Linked DNA regions of Homo sapiens: all the other regions are linked to region 1. The links are contacts of gene promoters, found by promoter capture Hi-C in human tissues and cell types (Jung and others, 2019). All regions are on one chromosome and are shown on one strand. Each heading gives the region's core, a stretch centred on a gene start or on the middle of the fragment in contact. The rest is flanking DNA. Distances are from core to core; before and after follow the strand shown. Region 1 holds the start of NXT1 (nuclear transport factor 2 like export factor 1). Region 2 has its middle 100 kb from the start of LINC01427. Region 3 overlaps LOC105372564 (a long non-coding RNA gene). Region 4 has its middle 75 kb from the start of LINC01747. Region 5 has its middle 140 kb from the start of LINC01747.

The links. The method cuts DNA at HindIII sites, captures the fragments that hold promoters and counts their contacts. A contact is called where the count stands out against the background at its distance.
Region 2: a contact is called between a fragment that was not itself captured here and the fragment with the promoter of NXT1 in region 1, in 1 of the 25 tissues and cell types used here (lymphoblastoid cells).
Region 3: a fragment that was not itself captured here is called in contact with the fragment with the promoter of NXT1 in region 1 in 1 of the 25 tissues and cell types used here (H1 embryonic stem cells).
Region 4: a fragment that was not itself captured here is called in contact with the fragment with the promoter of NXT1 in region 1 in 1 of the 25 tissues and cell types used here (thymus).
Region 5: a fragment that was not itself captured here is called in contact with the fragment with the promoter of NXT1 in region 1 in 1 of the 25 tissues and cell types used here (H1 embryonic stem cells).

What each region holds. Positions count from the first base shown.
Region 1 is chr20:23,349,225-23,352,805 of GRCh38, reverse strand. NXT1 (nuclear transport factor 2 like export factor 1) reads right to left here and starts at 2,015. Exons shown (of 2, transcript NM_013248.3): 1 at 1,745-2,015. It overlaps NXT1-AS1 (NXT1 antisense RNA 1), which reads left to right and starts at 1,339. Exons shown (of 3, transcript XR_937384.2): 1 at 1,339-1,476. RefSeq lists enhancers at 1,164-1,213, 1,270-2,141, 2,080-2,374, 2,294-2,433, 2,142-3,014 and silencers at 1,704-1,973, 2,594-2,723. The HindIII fragment of the contact is 17,754 bases long and covers 1-3,581 here.
Region 2 is chr20:22,381,289-22,384,869 of GRCh38, reverse strand. No RefSeq gene overlaps it. Among named protein-coding and RNA genes, the nearest start is that of LINC01427, 100 kb to the right of the region's middle. The HindIII fragment of the contact is 8,346 bases long and covers 1-3,581 here.
Region 3 is chr20:22,512,450-22,516,030 of GRCh38, reverse strand. All of the region lies in intron 2 of LOC105372564 (a long non-coding RNA gene), which reads left to right. Among named protein-coding and RNA genes, the nearest start is that of LINC00261, 64 kb to the left of the region's middle. RefSeq lists an enhancer at 2,785-3,286. The HindIII fragment of the contact is 4,166 bases long and covers 1-3,581 here.
Region 4 is chr20:22,758,574-22,762,154 of GRCh38, reverse strand. No RefSeq gene overlaps it. Among named protein-coding and RNA genes, the nearest start is that of LINC01747, 75 kb to the right of the region's middle. The HindIII fragment of the contact is 6,241 bases long and covers 1-3,581 here.
Region 5 is chr20:22,825,514-22,829,094 of GRCh38, reverse strand. No RefSeq gene overlaps it. Among named protein-coding and RNA genes, the nearest start is that of LINC01747, 140 kb to the right of the region's middle. The HindIII fragment of the contact is 7,062 bases long and covers 1-3,581 here.

The sequences.
Region 1 (3,581 bases), core at 766-3,265:
ACAGAAAGGCATGTTAGATTTCAAAGCTCTTGGGTGTGTGGACACAGAATATGAACTATAGCTGAAATGTCACATTGTCCCCCAAATAAAAAAGTCCAAAAGCATTTAAAAAATTGACATTTACTTTTTTCAGGGTACAGGTACAACTGTTATGTTCTTTTCTCCATAATTAAAATATTTCACTTAAAAAAAAGAGGACATTACTAAAATAGAGGACATTACTAAAATAGTTTATACTTACAAACTTAGTGAACAGTTTTTTTTCATTTCAAAAAAAAGACTTTTTTTTTTATAATGATTAGCTTATGAAATAAATAAAACATTCCACATAGGGCTGGAAAGAGCCAGGTACTTATAACGGCTGCAAAGATGGTGCATTGCCTCTGGTAAAGGGCTGGCTGGGAGGGAAGCTGTCCTAAAAATGAGCAGTTAAGAGCCAATTTCAGACGTGGGTCTTTCCACGCCCTCCACAGACCTCATAGTTAAGCCTCAACTGTACTCTGGACTGAGTACAGTGGTCCCTCGGTATCTGTGAGGAACTGGATTCAGGACCCCCGAGGATACCAACACCTGCAGATGCTCAAGTCCCTGATAAAATGGTGTACTGTTTGATATAACCTATGCGCAGCATCCTCCTATATACCTTCATCATCTGTAGGTAACTTATAATACCTAATACAATGTAGATGGGATGTAAATAGTTGTTATACTGTATAGTTTAGGAAATAATGACAAGAAAAAAAAAGCCTCTACATGTTCAGTACAAACGCATTTTTCTTTTTCTGAAGAATATTTTTGATTTGAGGTTGGTTGAATCCACCCCACGCGGAACCCACGACTAAGAAGCGCTGTGTTTGCTAAGGGCTTCACACAAATTACCTCATTTAAATGTTACCACAAATGGATGAAAAAGGTATTACTATAACAATTTTACAAATGAGAAAAGGGAAACCTAGGGCTGGATCAAAGTAACGACGGTTAAGTACACTCCTGATCTATCGTTTACAAGACTAGACTGAGGGCTGAAATTTTGTCAATACAACGCTGTCCTTGTACTCGCGTAAGCAAGTCTCCATGAGCACAACTCCAGGACTGCTAGAGTGGGAATTTTCTCCCAGGGACCCCATTTCTCTTTGGCTGGAATTCCCGATCTCCACCTCACTCCTCCTCCCTCCATGGCACCAGTCCCCCCATCATCTCAGAAATGCCCCTCTTCTCCGCCCCTGGCTGTCTTTCCAAACACAATCTAACAACTGGCCACGCCCCCACACACCATAGAAGGACCATCTCCACTTACGGTTTTCAGCTACCTATGAGGTCGTCAGTCCCGCTGTCTGTGTCAAATCAGAAAAAGAACCTGACCGTGAGGACTAGAGTAAGAGGCTGTGAAGACTGCCGCCTCCTCGCACGACCCACACCGTCGAGTGTCCGGAGATGGACGGGAAAAGCTACCACAGTGGCATGGCCTTATTTCCTGTGAGTCGCCTTTAATTCAAACCTAGACAGACGCACGCCCTGCCCGGCCCTCCTCAGACCCGAGAGCTGCGCTGTGAGGGGACGCGCCTCCCCTCGTTGATGAGAATTCGCTGCCACGCTTTTTGCACAGGCGAGAGCCTCACCGCGGCGGCAACTCTACCACGTGGACAAAGGCACAGCCGTGTCTCATTCTCGACAATGGAGGAGGGCGTGGGGTATGCACTAGGGGCTGTCTCGGGGGTCAGACCGCCGGGGGACGGCAACGTACCTGCGCGGCGACGTCCAGGGTCAGCGCGGGCCGCGGCCCCCACGGTCGGGACGCCCCCCGCGTGGGACGCAGTTCCACTGAGGGGCCGGCCGCGGAGGTCACAAGGTGGGCCCACCGAAGCCTCTGGTAGGGGCACGGGAAGAGCCGCCTTTCTCTCCTCCTCCTCCTTCTTGGAGGCTTACTCTGGGTCACCGGGGCCCCAGAGCCGGGGGACTTTCCGGCGCAGTTCCGCGGCTTCCCGCGCGCGGCCAGCCGGTCTCCACGCAGACGCGAGCGCCCCGGCGCCGCCCTCTCCCGCATTCCCGTGACGGGCAGCGAAGTCAGCCAGTGGGACTGCGGGCCGGAAGGCTAACTCCGCCCATGTGTGGCTTATAAGAGGCGGTAGCTTCCGGGAGTGTCACTTTCCCAGAAATCCCGGCAAATCCGCCCTAGAGTTTTCGTTGGTCCAACCGGGCCACAGACTCCGGCCCGTCTGGTTAGGTGGGATGCCTGATTGGGCCAAACCTCTTAGGTCCCGCACCTAGAGCGGGGAGTAGCGTCTGCTTTTTTTTCCGCTGAGCGGAGGCCGCTAGGCTGGAGAGGGAGGGGAAGGTGTGTGGGGTCGGGTGAGATGCTTTCCCCTCGTCCCGCATGCGCCTGTATTGGAGTGATTTCAGTTAAAAGTCTCGTGAAACGTCACCAGTGATGTAGTCACGGCCAGCAGCAGCTGCCTGACCCCGCCGAGGCCTTCCGTCTGGCAACATGTGGGGCGCCGCAATGCTTGAGGCCACGGCGAGGGCAACGCCGGCCGCGCCCCGTGGAAACCGCGTGGCGGAGTGCTTGAGCCGATCGCGCTCTTTAGGAGTTAGGCCACTTAGAGGCGACATCTTGGTGGACACGGAGGAAGCCAGTTTTAGTCAGATGGGAAAAGTAGCTAAAAGTGGGAGGAGACTGGGGCGAGGGTGGGACGTGGGGGAGGCGGGGGCGTGACGGCGGCTCTCCACTGCCCTGAGGCTTGAGGGGCCCCGGGAAACCCGGGCCCGGCTGGGGTTGGGACTCTGTTCTTCCGCGTTCATAGCTACGATTCAGCTGTTCTGGAATGAGAACTGGATTTTTACTGAACTTTACGAACAGGCTCAACAGGATGTAACCATTCAGTGTGGAGGCATGAGAAACTATAGCTTGTAAATTAAAAGAAAAACCTCATTTCTTTAGACAACATTTTCAGCTCCATCTGCTGGTCTGAGGCTGAATAATTAATTGAAAAGCCAGGAGAGAAATGGGGCTAGATGAAGTGAGGTAGTTTAACCTGTGCTTTCTTGGCGTCCCGTCGGCTCCCTTTGCTTGCATTCCTAAGAGAATCTTGGTCTCAGATTTCAGGACAAGTGGAAAACAGTTGGGCTATTTAGTATAGGCCACCCCTTCCCCCCCGCACCCTCTCCCCCCACACACTTCAGTTAAGTAGGTGGAAAGTTTGGATTATTAAAAAGACACGTTGGAGGCTGAGCAGAGAGTGTGAAAGAGCATTTTCGGGGCTTTGTGAACTAACATGGCCTTTTGAACCCCAAGGCAGTGATACTTGGATTGATCTAAATCAGCGTGGATGGAATGGAAGTGGGAATGCGTTGATTTACTGCACGCTCAGTAGTTTGGATGCTGTGCTGCTTTTGTTTCCTGTATAATAAGCCCCTTTAATTTGTTTCACATAACTTATTGGGGGAGGTACCATTATTTCTGATTTTATAGACAAGGAGGCTGACAAAGAACCATCCTGGTGTCACAGGGTCGATTCATACCTAGAAAAGTATGAAGATTCATACCTAGAAAAATTAGAAGAACATTAATGCAGCTCCAAGGC
Region 2 (3,581 bases), core at 508-3,007, 970 kb after region 1:
TATCTGGGTGGGGGGTGGGCAAGAAAGTTCCTGTAACCCACTGGGGCAGGACAAGGGAGGGGATTTGGGCCACATACCCCCGAAACCAAGGACACCGCCTACCTGGGAAAGGAGGGTCTGGGTAGACCTCACATCCAGAAAGTGGAAATGGGAAAGAGAGCACCTGAGGGGTGGGTTGGGGTGGGGAGAAAGAGTAGAGCTGTGTCTCTCGCTGGACAGAGTCAAATGAGACCCAAGTCATCCAGCCAGGAAGCGCATTCTCAGCCCGATCTCAAGATCTGACATGATGACCTGAACAATTTTAGAGACCAGCTGCTGCCAGACAGCAGACACTCCGATTGCTTCTGCATCCAGAAAGTACCTCGGTGATCTGAAAAATGGGTGGATTAATAAAGAAAGAGGTAGAGGCATTTTAAAGGATTTTAGGTTTCAGGGGATGGCTTGGAATGAATCAGCACAGTGATGAGGTTGGCATTTCGGGGAGAGTGGGGTTGTGGGAAGGGGGCAGGTGACCTGAGCCAGGCCCTTAAGTAACATGGTCTAGTTGGGGGTTGCTTAGCTACAGGGGGAAGGTGCTTGAGAGAGACCCCTCCCTTAAGGAGAGGACCTCCCAACCCCTCCCTACCCAAGAGGGCCCTTGGGGTGAGAGGAGGGCCGAGAGCAATTTACTCAAGTATTGTCTTCATGGTCTGTCATCCTCCCCTTTCCCTACCAACTCCCCCAAAATAAGTCCAGTGGGTGGTTTCTATTCAGTGAAGCATCCAGATAGTCCTGGTATGCAGTTGGCACTCAAATCCCACTGAATGAATGAATGAATCAATGAACAGGGTCAGGTTAGGCTGCCCTGCACAGATTCTAATCTTGTGATCCCTTTTGGTTTCTAAGCAATAAAACACTCTGGGGACATACACGTGTATACAGCACACACATGCTTTCTCAGATTTCTCTAGAAATATTAGTTTTGCCTATTAGTCCCAAGAAATGAAATGACAAGTTATATATATGTCAAAAAAGGGAAGCACATATTGCATTTATGTGAATATTACCATATATAAGTTCAGGCACCACTGGGAGACTTAACATTGAGTATTCCCATTAAACAGACTTGGAGAAACAAAACACACACATACACACACACACACACACTCCTTCACACTCACAGTTCTGGTGAAAATTGTTGCTTCACCCCACTTTCATGCCTTTAAAATGTGATTTTCTGATGCATCAAAAATTCATGGGAGGACAGGAGAATAAGAAAGCCCCTCTGGGATTTTAACTTTAACTTTGACAAACTATCTCAGTACGATGAGGTCCTTTTCATAAACCAGGGCAAACTTGGACCTTGCTGTTCTGTTTCATGGCAATATACGGGAAGCAAATGCCACTTGGTAACCAAAAGGTATTAATAGATCTCAAAATACATGGACTTGCACTGTCGCTACACCCTGGAGATCTGGTTAACAGCATTGAATGGGTGTGGGATTTGAGGCTAAATACAGCATTTCCAAAGTAGCTGACATTTCCAAATGTGGCAAACCACAAAAACATTCCTTGTGTGAAGAGCATTTTTCTACAACCGGAACAGGGGCAACTGAATAATTTTAGTCATTTTACCAACCCAATGCACCCGTCACAAAAGCTCAGGTGAAGGAATGCACAGCTATTTTGCAATGATGGTCTGCAATGCTGCCTTGTGTGTTCCCCAGCTGACTCAGTTGTACCATCTAGACACAGCCAGCCTATATGGAGCTGGGGTTTTCACCACAATTCACTAAAATAATGGGCGACAGGCATGAGTGACTGGGGCAGGACTCCTTGCCTTTCACATGGGTCAGCCTCTCTGACGAGTGAGCCCAGGTGCACTGTCTCCTACTCGTTTATTAAAAGAAAGAAAGAGGATATAGTATTTCAGCTTCTTACAGATTTAAAACGGAAGTGATTCAAGTCACAAGAAAAGTACAAACACGTTGCTTAACCGAGTGAGTATATTCTGAGAAATGCATTGTTAGGCTATTTTGCTGTTGTGTGAACATCATGGAGTGTACTTGCACAAATCTAGATGGTAGAACCTGCTACACCCCCAGGCTATGTGGCATTAGCCTATTGCTCCTGGACTACACACTGGGGCAGCACGTTGCTGTACCAAATACTGTAGGCAGTTGTAACACAACGGTAAGTATTTGTGTATCTAAACATAGCTAATATAGGAAAGCTACCCTAAAAATACAATATTATAATCTTATGGGACCACTATTTGATATGCAGTCTATCTTGACTAAACTGTTGTCATGTGGCACATGACCTGTCATCTCTTTTAACAGTGTATATTGACATATTATAGACTCTTAACAAGGCTTGAACATTTCTTCCAGGGGAAACACCTGTTTGGAGCCTTTCACTTTAAATTACAGGCAACTACAGTGAGAGTTCTAGCTTTACCACTTTTTTTTGAGAGGAGGTTCTGGCATTAAAAGTTTATTTCTATCCATGTTATTCAAATATAGCGCACTAACTTTATATTATACAAATAAGTCAGAGAGGAAGAAGGGAAGAGAGCAATTAAAGAGTTATGAATACATTTTTTATTGCAGAAAAGGCCTGAGCCTCCTGGGATTTGAAGGCACACAGAGGATAAATAGGCCCCACCCTGTGTTCTTTGAGAGGTTAACAATATTTAATCCAGAACTTTTTGGAATACATACAGGTGTTCTTTGAAAAAGAGTTTAGCAGTCAAGTGAATTTGAGAGAGGGTGGTTTAATTGAAGTTAAACATTACTTTACTGCAGGGCTTTTCAGAGCCTTTAATCTGCTAAATGCTTGTGACATTCCAAGTGGGGCTGTGAGTGAGGACTGCCTTCGAAAATTTCACACAAGGCACTGCAAGGTATGGGCCCTAGGAAGGGGTGAGGAGGCAAAAGGACGAGGAGGCTGGATAGGGGCCTGAATAGGGGCCTGCTTATGGGACTGTATTTCCCCCAAACATTGAACTATAAAATGCTTTTTGATGGAAATAGTAATAACGTAACAGAGAACACACAGGCACAAGTGAAAAATGAAAAGCAACTTTTCTCCCAAAGAGAAAGGGAAACTTCCCAGGCCCTGAGGGGTGGGGGCGGGGGAACCAATGTTTTGAGCCCTTTTTAAGCATCACATTAGCTCCTTTACAACTACTATGAGCTTCTAACATCGGGCATTTTAAGATAGAAAGGGAGGGGTCCAACACATGGCTTTCTGGGAGAGTGATCCAAGAATGTCAGGTCACCTGCAACACATGCACAGGTACCCAGAGAGAGAGAGAGAGAGAGAAAGAGAGAGAGAGAGACCTCTTTGCAGAAGGCCATGATGTCCCTGGGAAGTGGCATGAGAAGGAGTCACTACAGGGTCCACAAATCATACATGCTCTAAGCATCATCCATGGCCCGCATACATGGTCTGTCTTAAAGTGATTTGCACCATTCTATATCAAACAGATAAACGCTACTGTGATTGATAAAATACAATTAATGTAAAAATCTTGCTGAGTTCACAGTAACAGTCTGTCTTTAAATATTTTCTCTATAGATGGATAAGAGTAGAGCTAA
Region 3 (3,581 bases), core at 515-3,014, 840 kb after region 1:
GCTCCATTCATGCTGCTGCAAAAGACATGATTTCATTCTTAAAATGGCACTTTATGAGGTTCGCTTTTCCTGGCAAGATGAACTAACAAAATGGAGATGTTGGATTCTTTTATTAAACCCAAATGTGGTGAGCCACAGATGGAAGGTAGAAGGTTGCTGATTCTCGAAAAAGAATCTGGGAAATGATAGCCTAGGGTCAGGAGGGCCAGGTACCAAAAGGGAGGCTGGCTGGGGTTGTGGAGTTATGTGCTTTTCCTTCCCTGAACTTCCCTCAAGAAAATAAGAGCTTCCCCATCACCTCAGCAAAGCATCAGTCCCCCGGTGTTGAACCAGCTGGTACTCTGGCAGCCCTAAAGCACTCTCCTCCCGAGCTCCCACTTAAGCAAGGTGGGGATGATTTTAAGGCAGGCAGCTGTAGAAAAAGAGTAGGGCTCTGGGAGCTCTCCAGAGCTCCTCTGTCACCTGGCACAGAGGGTGGGTCACTCAGGGGAGGTCCAGCCCACAATAAACATGGAAGCCACGCACCCCGATGTCATCCCCCAGGCTCATCCTCACCACGAGGCAGGCAAGGCCTGCACCTGGGCCTTTGCTCCTTCTCCCAGGGATGTCAGACCAGCCAAGGCAGCCGGTGTTTCCACATGCATGTGGGCTCAGGAGGATATGAAAGGGTCAGGGCCAGCCCAATAACTGAGCCACACACACTAGATGAGATGGTAGGGGAGTTCAGGCAGGGCATGAATTAAAGGAAGCTTAATAAATATTCTCAAACAGATCAGGAAAAACAAAACAAGAACACACAGCCACAAACAGACTTTAATTGTTGGAATAAAGAGCATAATTGAGGGACTGAATAGTAGGGTGGATTCAGTGGAAGAACAAATCAGGAAGGACTCAGCAAGATGAAGAGATTGAGACGGAAAGTAATAGTTAAGAACATGGCTCCCTATAACAGGAGTCCCAGAAAGAGGAAAAAAATAAACAGGGGGTGAAACACACACACAATTTCAGAATGTAAGGTCTTATAGATATAATAATAGTAGGAGAGATGTCAATAAATCTTTTAAAAAAACACTGACAAAGGAGACAAAAATTACCAATAATTTGGAATATTTGAGAAGCATTATAACAGTTACTTAATGTTATATTGTCCAATACAGTAGCCGATAGCTACATAACTCTTGAGCACTTGAAGTGTAGCTAATGCAAGAAAATTTTAAGATTTTATTTAATTTTAATTAATTTAAATTTTAAAACCTAATACTTAATTCAGGTATTGAAAAACTTTTAAGTATGTTTAGAACAATCTGCTCTTTCAATTGTAAATTGAAATCTAAATACAGATCAAGTGTATCCAATTTTAGTATTTGTATTGAAATGCACTGAAAGAGCTAAATCCACCCCAGGTTTCTAACACTCAATACAGAAAAATAATGTAAAGCATCTTGTTAATATTTTTATATTGATTATATGTTCAAATTGTTGTTTTGTATATATTGTCTTAAATAATATTATTAAAATTAATTTCACCTGTGCATTTTCACTTTTTAATATGGCTTCTAGAAAATATAAAATTATATATGTGGCTGGCATTATATTTCTTTTGGACAACACTGATCTAATAGATGTACATAACTTACACCCACAGAGAATATTCATTTTAATTCCCATGGAACAAAGAAAACTTTTGTAAATGCCAAGTAATCAATACATACACAATGTGTTGATTATAATGAAATAAAGTTAAAAAATCAGTAATGGCAATAAAACCACTTCGACCATCTCTTGGACACATAAAACATTATAATGTATGGTATATAACCATTGGGGTTTAGAGGAAATTTAAAAGATATTACAAAATACTTGGAACTGGATAAGAACAAAAGTGTCAAATGTCAAACTTTATGACCCATAACTCTCAAGTTGCACTTAAAGTTTTACATAATTTTGAATACACAAATAGCAAACAAGACACCGAAAGACCACATACCTAAGGACATAACTAAACATATTAGAAAAAGAAAAAGAAAAATGACAGAATAAAACCAAAGCAAAGAAAAAGATATAAAGTGAGTTTAAAAAAATCAATGAAATTGCCAAAAATCCCCATTAAAATGTGATTCTTTGAAAAATGAGATGGCAAAAGTGTCTGTGAAACTCTACACGCCAATACATTTAGACCCAGATGGACAACGGCTTAGGAAAAATAGCAGCCTTGGACTAGAGGAATCAAAGGAAAGCTGCCGACATGGAGTCACAAACAGCACTCTCTCTCCCAATAGAAGCTTCTAGACAGGTTCCAAACCCAAACTAGGAAACCCGTTCCAGGAGGTTCCTAAGTGAGTGAGTGATTTGGGAGCCAGAACACACAGGGAATCCAGGGGAAAGTAGTAAAATAAAATAAAACAAGAAGGGCCTTGGGTGAGCACACTGCACCATGGCCTGAGTAGTAGTATTATTTCAATTATTTGCACCTGAGGAGACGTACAGTTGCTTTCAATGTCCAGAATTTGCAGGTGAACCTCTCAGACCTTTGCTTTTCTCCTTTATGGGTTTCTTTTCCCTGGGACACATTGTCAGCCCTTAGCTGCTCACTAAAGCCTCCTGATTTGAGATCTATATGACAAATGCCTGATGCTAAGCAGAGATGCTGAGGCCTGGAGCCAGGAAGGCGAATTAGTTTCCTAGTTCTAAAGGTAGGGGTGTGTGGTGCATGCATGAGAGAGAGAGAGAGAGAGAAACAAGAGGGAGAGAGGGAGAGAGAGAGAGAAACAAGAGGGAGAGAAGGAGAGAGAGAGGGAAAGAGAGAGGGAGAGAGGGAGAGAGGCAGAGAGAGAGGGAGAGAGGGAGAGAGGCAGAGAGAGAGGGAGAGAGGGAGAGAGGGAGAGAGAGAGAGAAAAGAGAGAGAGAGGGAGAGAGGGAGAGTATATAAAAATTCTCTTGCTCTCTTTGCTTCTGTAGATGTAGTTAACAAGTCCACTTTTAGGGCTTAATCTGCTGGGCACACTTTCTTGATTTTATAGCTAGAAATGATCTAATTTAGGCAGAGGGGGCTGCCTGAAGTAAATACAGCACTGGTTCAATTAGGTGGGGATAGATATGCACTACCTTTAAAAGAAGATAAAGACATTTGAACTGTTGGAAATACTAAACCGATCAGCCATCACCCTTTCCTAACATACCCAGATAGTAGCTGCACCCCCTGCTTTGCTTTGGGACTATAGGCAGAGCCAAGGGGACTGTCCCCTCTGCATGACCCGCAGCTACTCTCCCTTTGTCTGCAAACAACCGAGAGGAGCGAGTTGGAGCCCAGAGCAGCAGAGACTCAGCCTAGCAGCTGACTGGGCCAGGTGCGTTTCCATTGGCTGCAGAGGCCCGGTTGAGCTCTATTTTCTTCTGTACATAAAGATAAGAAGCCAAGGGCCCCCTTCCGAAAGCAAACACGTTTAATTGGAACCACCGCCTCCCCATGATTCACCGGATGGAATTTACAATGGTGTTTACCTTTTTCCACAAAAGTAGCAAATGAATCAATCCCAATAGGAAATATAAATCTAGGAAATATAAATCCCCAGCAGATGCAT
Region 4 (3,581 bases), core at 639-3,138, 590 kb after region 1:
TCTCTATGTCTCTCTCTCTTTCTCTCGGACTCTCTGTCTCTGTTTCTTTGTCTCTGTCTCTCTCTCTTTAACCACTTTATTGAGATACCATTCACCCTCTCAACGTGTACAGTCCTGTGGTTGTTTATGTTTGCAGATAGGTCAGCCCCATCTCTTGCAGCTTTCCTGACCACCCTGACTTCTCACTTTCCCTTTCCCCATCCAGGTGAACTCGGGGCCTGGCACTGTGTCTTGCCCTGTGGTTCCGGTGGGAAATCTGCTACACCAGGAATCAGGAGACCAAACTCCACTACCAACTGCCTGGTGACACTTGAGTTCTCTTGTGCTGCAGTTTGCACTGTCAAATGTGTAAAAGAGTCAAACTGGCTCAGATGAAATCAAATGGGTTAAAGAATGTGAAGATTCTGGCCAGGCACAGTGGCTCATGCCTGTAATCCCAGCACTTTGGGAGGCAGAGGCGGGCGGATCACCTGAGGTCGAGAGTTCGAGACCAGCCTAGACAAAATGGAGAAACCTCGTCTCTACTAAAAATACAAAATTAGCCAGGCATGGTGGTGCCTGCTTATAATCCTAGCTACTCAGGAGGCTGAGGCAGGAGAATCACTTGAACCAACCTGGCAGGCAGAGGTTAGGGTGAGCCGAGATCGCACCATTGCACTCCAAAACTCCATCTTAAAAAAAAAAAAAAAAAAAAAAAAAAAGAATGTGAAGGTTCTTTGAGGCATAGTAAACCTTATACAAACATAATATATATTTTCCTATATTATGTTTTAATATTCAGTCCTGATTATTACAGGGGGTTGGCGATCACCTTTGAGGTAAAAGGAAACAGTGCTCCAAGGCAGCTTCAAGACACAATATGAGAAAAGAATGCAAAATATTTCACTAACATTTGTTTTATAATTAAGAGCTGAAATGATAATACTTTTGATACAACAGGTTAAGTAAAATCTATCAATGAAGTAAATTTTACCATTTTCCCTTTGTTAAATGTGGCTATTAGATATTTTAAAATGGTACATGTGGCTGGGGTCATATTTTTACCAGGTGGCCCTGCGCTAGGGTAACTGTTTTGAACTTGAGACCACAGAGTGAAACCAGCTATGTCCTTTGCCTTCTTTCTTTCCTGCCTCCATGCAAAGTGGCTTCTTTGGCTAAGCATCTGGGGAGGGGAGAGAGGCTGGCATTCCAGCGTGTGTTAGGGTCAGAGGACCTGGTGAACAATGCTCTGACAACACGACATCTTCACAGACACTGCATGAGAGGAAAGCTGCATTTTCTTTGGATGATGCTGCGTCCCAGAGCGAATGCCCCCTGCTTGTGAATTCTTTGAAGTTGAGGCTGGCTGGCCAGGGCAACTGTGACCTTGGCTTTCTAGAAGGTTCTAGAGTACAGCCTCCCTTCAGCTCACCCCTATGGGTGGAAACCATGAAGGAGGCCACCAGCCTTTGGCAGTGGGCTGCCCCTGGATCCCCACTGCTGACTGTGGCCTGTGTGGGCCTCTCTTTCAGCTGCTCTGTCACTGACAGGCCTGGGAGCTCTGCACAACCAGCTGAAACCATGGGACTGGTTATTGACTGAGGCTTATTAATGCTCCTGCTTCCCACCAAGCCAGGGCTTCCCAGATGGGAAAGAACGGCTTGCCAGGGCAGAAGGAGGAGAGTGTGGTGTGGCACCAAGGGGGAGAATGAACTACTTTCGCTTGCTTTGATTCCAGCCAACCCAGTCCCTCTGGGAGTCCTATTCCCAGAGAAAATATTTCTCAGGAAAGGGTTTCTCAGGAAAGACCCATCCGAGACCTCATTCTTGCAGCAGAAGTTCACTGCAGAGCTGCAGGCCTAGCAGTGACAGGGGTACATAGGAAAGCCATTGGTAGGGATTTAAGAGGAGTGGCTAAAGCAAAATCAGTCCTATGAATGGAGCCAACAGCCCTGGTGGTCGCTTGGTGTCCATCTCTCCTCTTTGACCCCAAGAGGTATGTGGAAGATACCAGTATTTCTTCAGCTTTTACATAGCATCACCTCATTTAATCCTTACAACGGAACCATGTAGTGGAGCTGACACTGATGAGCTGAATCCCCTTGTCCCATCCCCTCTCACCATGTTTCCTATATGTAAAGGTTGAAGGTAGCCGTCAGTTGCAGAGAAAGTGTGTGGACCTTCCTAACTTGTCCTTCATGGAAAGTTTACCACTTTCCTTATAGCATGGAGGATGGGGGTCAGCTCTTCCCATATTTGGACGCTCATGGGTCTCCACCTAATATCCTACCACAACTGCCTATTGGGCACCATGTTCACTATTTGGGTGATGGGTTCAATGGAAGCCCAAATTCCAGCATTATACAATACACCCATGTAACACACCTGCACATGCACCCCCTGAATCTAAAAACAAAAACAGAAACCCTCAAGTGTCTGCAGAAAAGCTCTGTAAACTCAAAATGCCAAGCAGGTATGGATGAAAACAAGCTTCAAGCATCTTCGAATTAAAAAAAAAAAAAAAATGAGCTCATGTCCTTTGCAGGGACATAGATGAAGCTGGAAGCCATCATTCTTATCAAATTAACACAGGAACAAAAAACCAAACACCACATATTCTTACTCATAAGTGGGAGTTGAGCAATTACAACACATGAACACAGGGAGGGGAACATCATACACGGGGGCCTGTTGGGGGGTGGGGGGCAAGGGGAGGGAGAGCATTAGGACAAATACCTAATGCATGCAGGGCTTAAAGCCTAGAAGACAGGTTGATAGGTTCAGCAAACTACCATGGCACATGTATACCTATGTAACAAACCTGTACATTCTGCACATGTATCTCAGAACTTAAAGTTAAAATATGTGTATATATATATATATTTTAAATCCTTCCCCAGGGAAATGACCCAGCCCCATGGTGGTGTGACGAGAGGATTCTCAGAGGCTCTGGACCCCAGCCTGACCCTCATTGGCTTTGTAACTTTGGGAAAATCACTTACCCTTCTTAACCTTGAGTTTCCTCATTTGTAAAACTGTCTTTAGGAACCACAACATTTAAAGAATAAACCCATGAGCACTGTGGAAACTCAAGCGTGCTATGTAAATGTAAGCTTTTATTATGCATGGTCAAGTTTTTATGAACTGCGAAAGAAAAATTTGGCTGAACAGCCCTTCCTTGTTCTCAGCCAATTTAAGGAGCCAGGACAACTCACTGCTTTATGAGAAACCACCCTCATCCTTCAACTGGGTTTGAATTTTTCTAACACTTGGACTCATTTTGTTGAGCTCTTCAAGCAGCAGATCAAATTGAGCCTGGAAATAAAGGCTTCGCACCCCTCTGAAATCCCATGTAGCAGCCACACAAAAAACAGGGCTCTGGCCTCTCTGATTGCCCAGAGTGATGACTGTGTTTTCACATTCAAGGGATTTCAGGAGGCTAAAAGGATCTTTGTTTTTTCTGCTTGTGGATCATAACCTGGTCACACAGGGCAGGCATCTGGGCCTGTCCATTCATGAATCTGGTTATACCAACCAAAGCCATCCAGCAAACCTGAGACCTAACCCAGAAGACTGTTCTGCCAGAGGGCTTTGGAGGAGCA
Region 5 (3,581 bases), core at 438-2,937, 520 kb after region 1:
CCTGGGATCAGCAGCTAGGCTGGCATGTTCTCATGGCCATGGCAAAGGTTCAGGGAGGAGAGTAGAAATACCTCATTCTATTGTCCCAAGCAAGTCATATAACTACACCCAATGGCAAGAAGTATGGGAAATATGCCCCAATTCAAGTGGGAAGTACATCAAAGTCACATGGCGAAGGCCATAGAGGGTGAAGAACAAGGACAATAATACAATATACCCCAGTCCTTGTGGGAGAGTAAATGGTAGACTGACCTACAAATCAAGCTGCTGAGAGCAAGAGAGAGGAATAACACTCTTCAGGCTCAGAAGGTCTCAGCCCCTTGAAAAGTCTCTACTGAAATCCTAGACATTTAATTCTGGTAGAAGAATCCAGGTATCAAGAGGGCAAAAAACAGACAGCAGGGGATGCCTCGTTCCCCACCAGGTGGAGGTAAAGGGGATCTCAAAAACTAGCAGATAACAGGTTCACATTTCCTCAGGTATGCCGCGGGTTAGTGTTGCCCAGGAACAAAGGTCTACGTGCTGCTTCCTCCAGAGCCACTGATCTCTAGCAGGTGGGTAAATGCTTGATCCAAGACTTCAGTGTGTTGGGGGCGCTAACTTCTGAGATAGGTTTTCTCCTTGGTTGCTCTGCAGTTTGCTAGGGATTTCATTCTGCCTGAGAACAGGAGTTGAGCCATCCCCAGGAGCACTGAGCCCTGACTCCAGATCTCCTCCTACCAATTTCTATATTCAACCAACATTTATAGCACTGTCCGTGTGCCAGGTATAGAAGGTGGGAAGGCAGAGTTCCCTATTAGAGAAGAATGCTAGGAGAAGACTGCTCCCACACAGTGCATGGTACAATCTCAGAGGTGTGTGCACAGGTCAGAGGAGTGAGCAGATAACTGCTGCGGGATTCAAAAGGGTTTCCCAGACAAGGTGAATTGCATCTTGAGAGATGATAGAAGCATTCCAAGGAGATGAGGGAGGGTGCTCTACATACATTCCACAGCATTCCCTGTGCACACAGATAGGGCGTGTCCCCACATGATGTGTTGGGAAAGGTGAGGGCACCTCGATCAGCAGAACATAGAGTGCACAGGCACCAGCCTTCTGCAGATGACTGAGTGGTGGCAGGTCACACAGGGCCCTTATGCTGCAGGATGGGGATCTGGACTGTCTTCTCCAAGCCATGGAAAGTCACTGAAGGAGGATATTGGTAACTATAACTTTTTCAAGCCTAAAACCCAAGGGTGGGCCCTGGCATGCAATGGAGTGAGGAAAGCTGACCTCACATTATCCTAAAACTGGGATTCCACTGTAGCAGGCTGGGTCACTGACTTAAAAACAGGTCCCTGGTTTTTAGGGATAGCAAGGAAGTCCCTGTGACATCATTTCTTTAAGAATCTATATGCAACTTTTCCAAGAACTAAACTTCTGCTTTTCTCCAGGAATGGGGCTGGCTGGGTGCTCTCTGCCAGTGGCTATAATTCTCACTATAACCCTATGAGGCCAATATGATTATTCATAACCATTTTATAGACAAGTAAACTGAGACAGACTGTCAAGTCACTGCTCCCCTGATAAGCAGATCATAATTGCCAGGTTGGGGTAGTCGGGTGGAGACTTGTCCGCAAGTTCAATGCAACCTGCAGAGCCGTCTTCGCTGAAGCTCATGATGGCCACTTCCTCCTCCCACAGGGCTTCCTCCTTGAGGGTCCTAAAGCTTCTTCCAGTCTCCAGAAGCCAGCAGAATTATGCTCTTCTCACCAGAAGGATTATTTCCAATTAACGTTACATTAGAATTAATGCACAATAAAATGCTTATCCATGTTGAAAAGGATACGCTGTACGACAAACCCATTTCTCTGAAGGACCCCAAGGTGTAAAGCATCACCAGCCTTCTGCAAGGGGCTGGTTACTGACTTGGGAAATATGGGACATGTGTGAGAATGTGCTCACTCATCTGGTCTGAGTTGTTAAAAGCTGCCTCCAAGTGTCCTGTAAGAAAGGAGGACTTGTTTACTGAGCCCAGGAGCCCTGGCTCCAGCCGTCCCTGTCCAATGTGGGAGTGGATGGTAGCTCTGACACCTCCATGGGATCCGGGGCCACACCCACCAAGGTTCACTTGGAGGAACAGGCTCATGTCTTCAGAGAGCTCAATGTGCCTGCAGCCTACTTTGCTTGCATCTCTTTCCTCGGTCAAGCCCTTTTCTGAGGGGAGAGCGGAAAGCCAGGGCGTCCCACCTGGCCTGGATGTAAACCACCTTGGAGTGGATGAATGAGGTTTTTCTTCAACCCAAACCATAGGGAGCTCATGGCTTTTGTTCTTATCTCAGCCTCCAGAAAGTTAAAGGAGCATATCTACCTGCTCTGCCTTGGTGGTGAACCTCCACCTCCCATCTCATGTGGCCCAGGAGGGCCCCTCTCTGAGGGACTGTGGCATTTCAGGAAAGGTTAATTGAGCTGAAAATGAGGTGGAATGCTCTTTTCCAGGCTGTACTCACTTGTGCCTCCCACTTGCCAGGACAGGCCCAGAAGGAAACCATAAAATGACTCCATCCTGTCAGAAATTTCAACCGTGGGCTGGAGGTCATTCATTCCTCGTGATTGAAGAATGGCTTTGAGCCTGCTCATAAAGAATCTTAAAAAAATAAAATCCAAGGTCAGGTGCAGTGGCTCATGCCTGTAATCTCAGCATATTGGGAGGCCGAGGCAGGAGGATCACTTGAGGCCAGGAGTTTGAGACCAGCCTAGGCAACATGGTAAAACCCTGTCTCTACCAAAAAATACAAAAATTAGCTGGGCATGATGGTATGCACCTATAGTCCCAGCTACTCGAGAGGCTGAGGTGGGAGGATCACTTGAGCCTGGAGGTCAAGGCTGCAGTGAGCCTTGATCGCTTCACTGCACTCCAGCCTGGGTGACAGAGCAAGACCTTGTCTCAAAAGAAAACAAAAACTCAGCCTCAAACAGCCCCACTGTAGTGCCTTCCAGTGGAAATACTCGCTGATACCCCTCCATTTCCCCTGTACATATGACCCGAACACATCTCTGCTTCTCACATCCACAGTGAGGGCAGACAGCAAGAGGCCCAGGGCCCTGACAGAAACCCTCCCAACATACCCTTTCAATGAGAGCTGTTCTTTCTAGATTTGAACAGAGAACTGAGAATTTAAATGAGAGAAATGTCACCCAGAGTCCTAATTACCTGGTCACAGGTCACAGCAGTCCACGAGAGACAAACAGGAGAGCTGGCTCTTTCTGGGGATCTGGAGGAGGATTTGGCATTTTTGTTCACCATGGTGTGCCTTGCAGAGGCGGAAACTTGGCAACTGTTCTGCCCGGACCGCCCCTGCCTCAGCCTCAGGGCAGAGGACTGGCCTGCTTCCCTACAGATTCCAGAGTGATGGAAGTGATGGAATGGGAGCAGCCAGGATGTAAATGGAGGCTCTTCCCCATCTCTGAGTCTGCTCTGCCCTAAGATGAGCTCACAGAGAAGGACTTGTAGGTGTCCTTTTAACTCAGAGATCTGCCTTTGTCCTCAAGCTTCCATTTGCCTTTGCCACATAGAAAATGTAGGAAGATCATCCTCACTC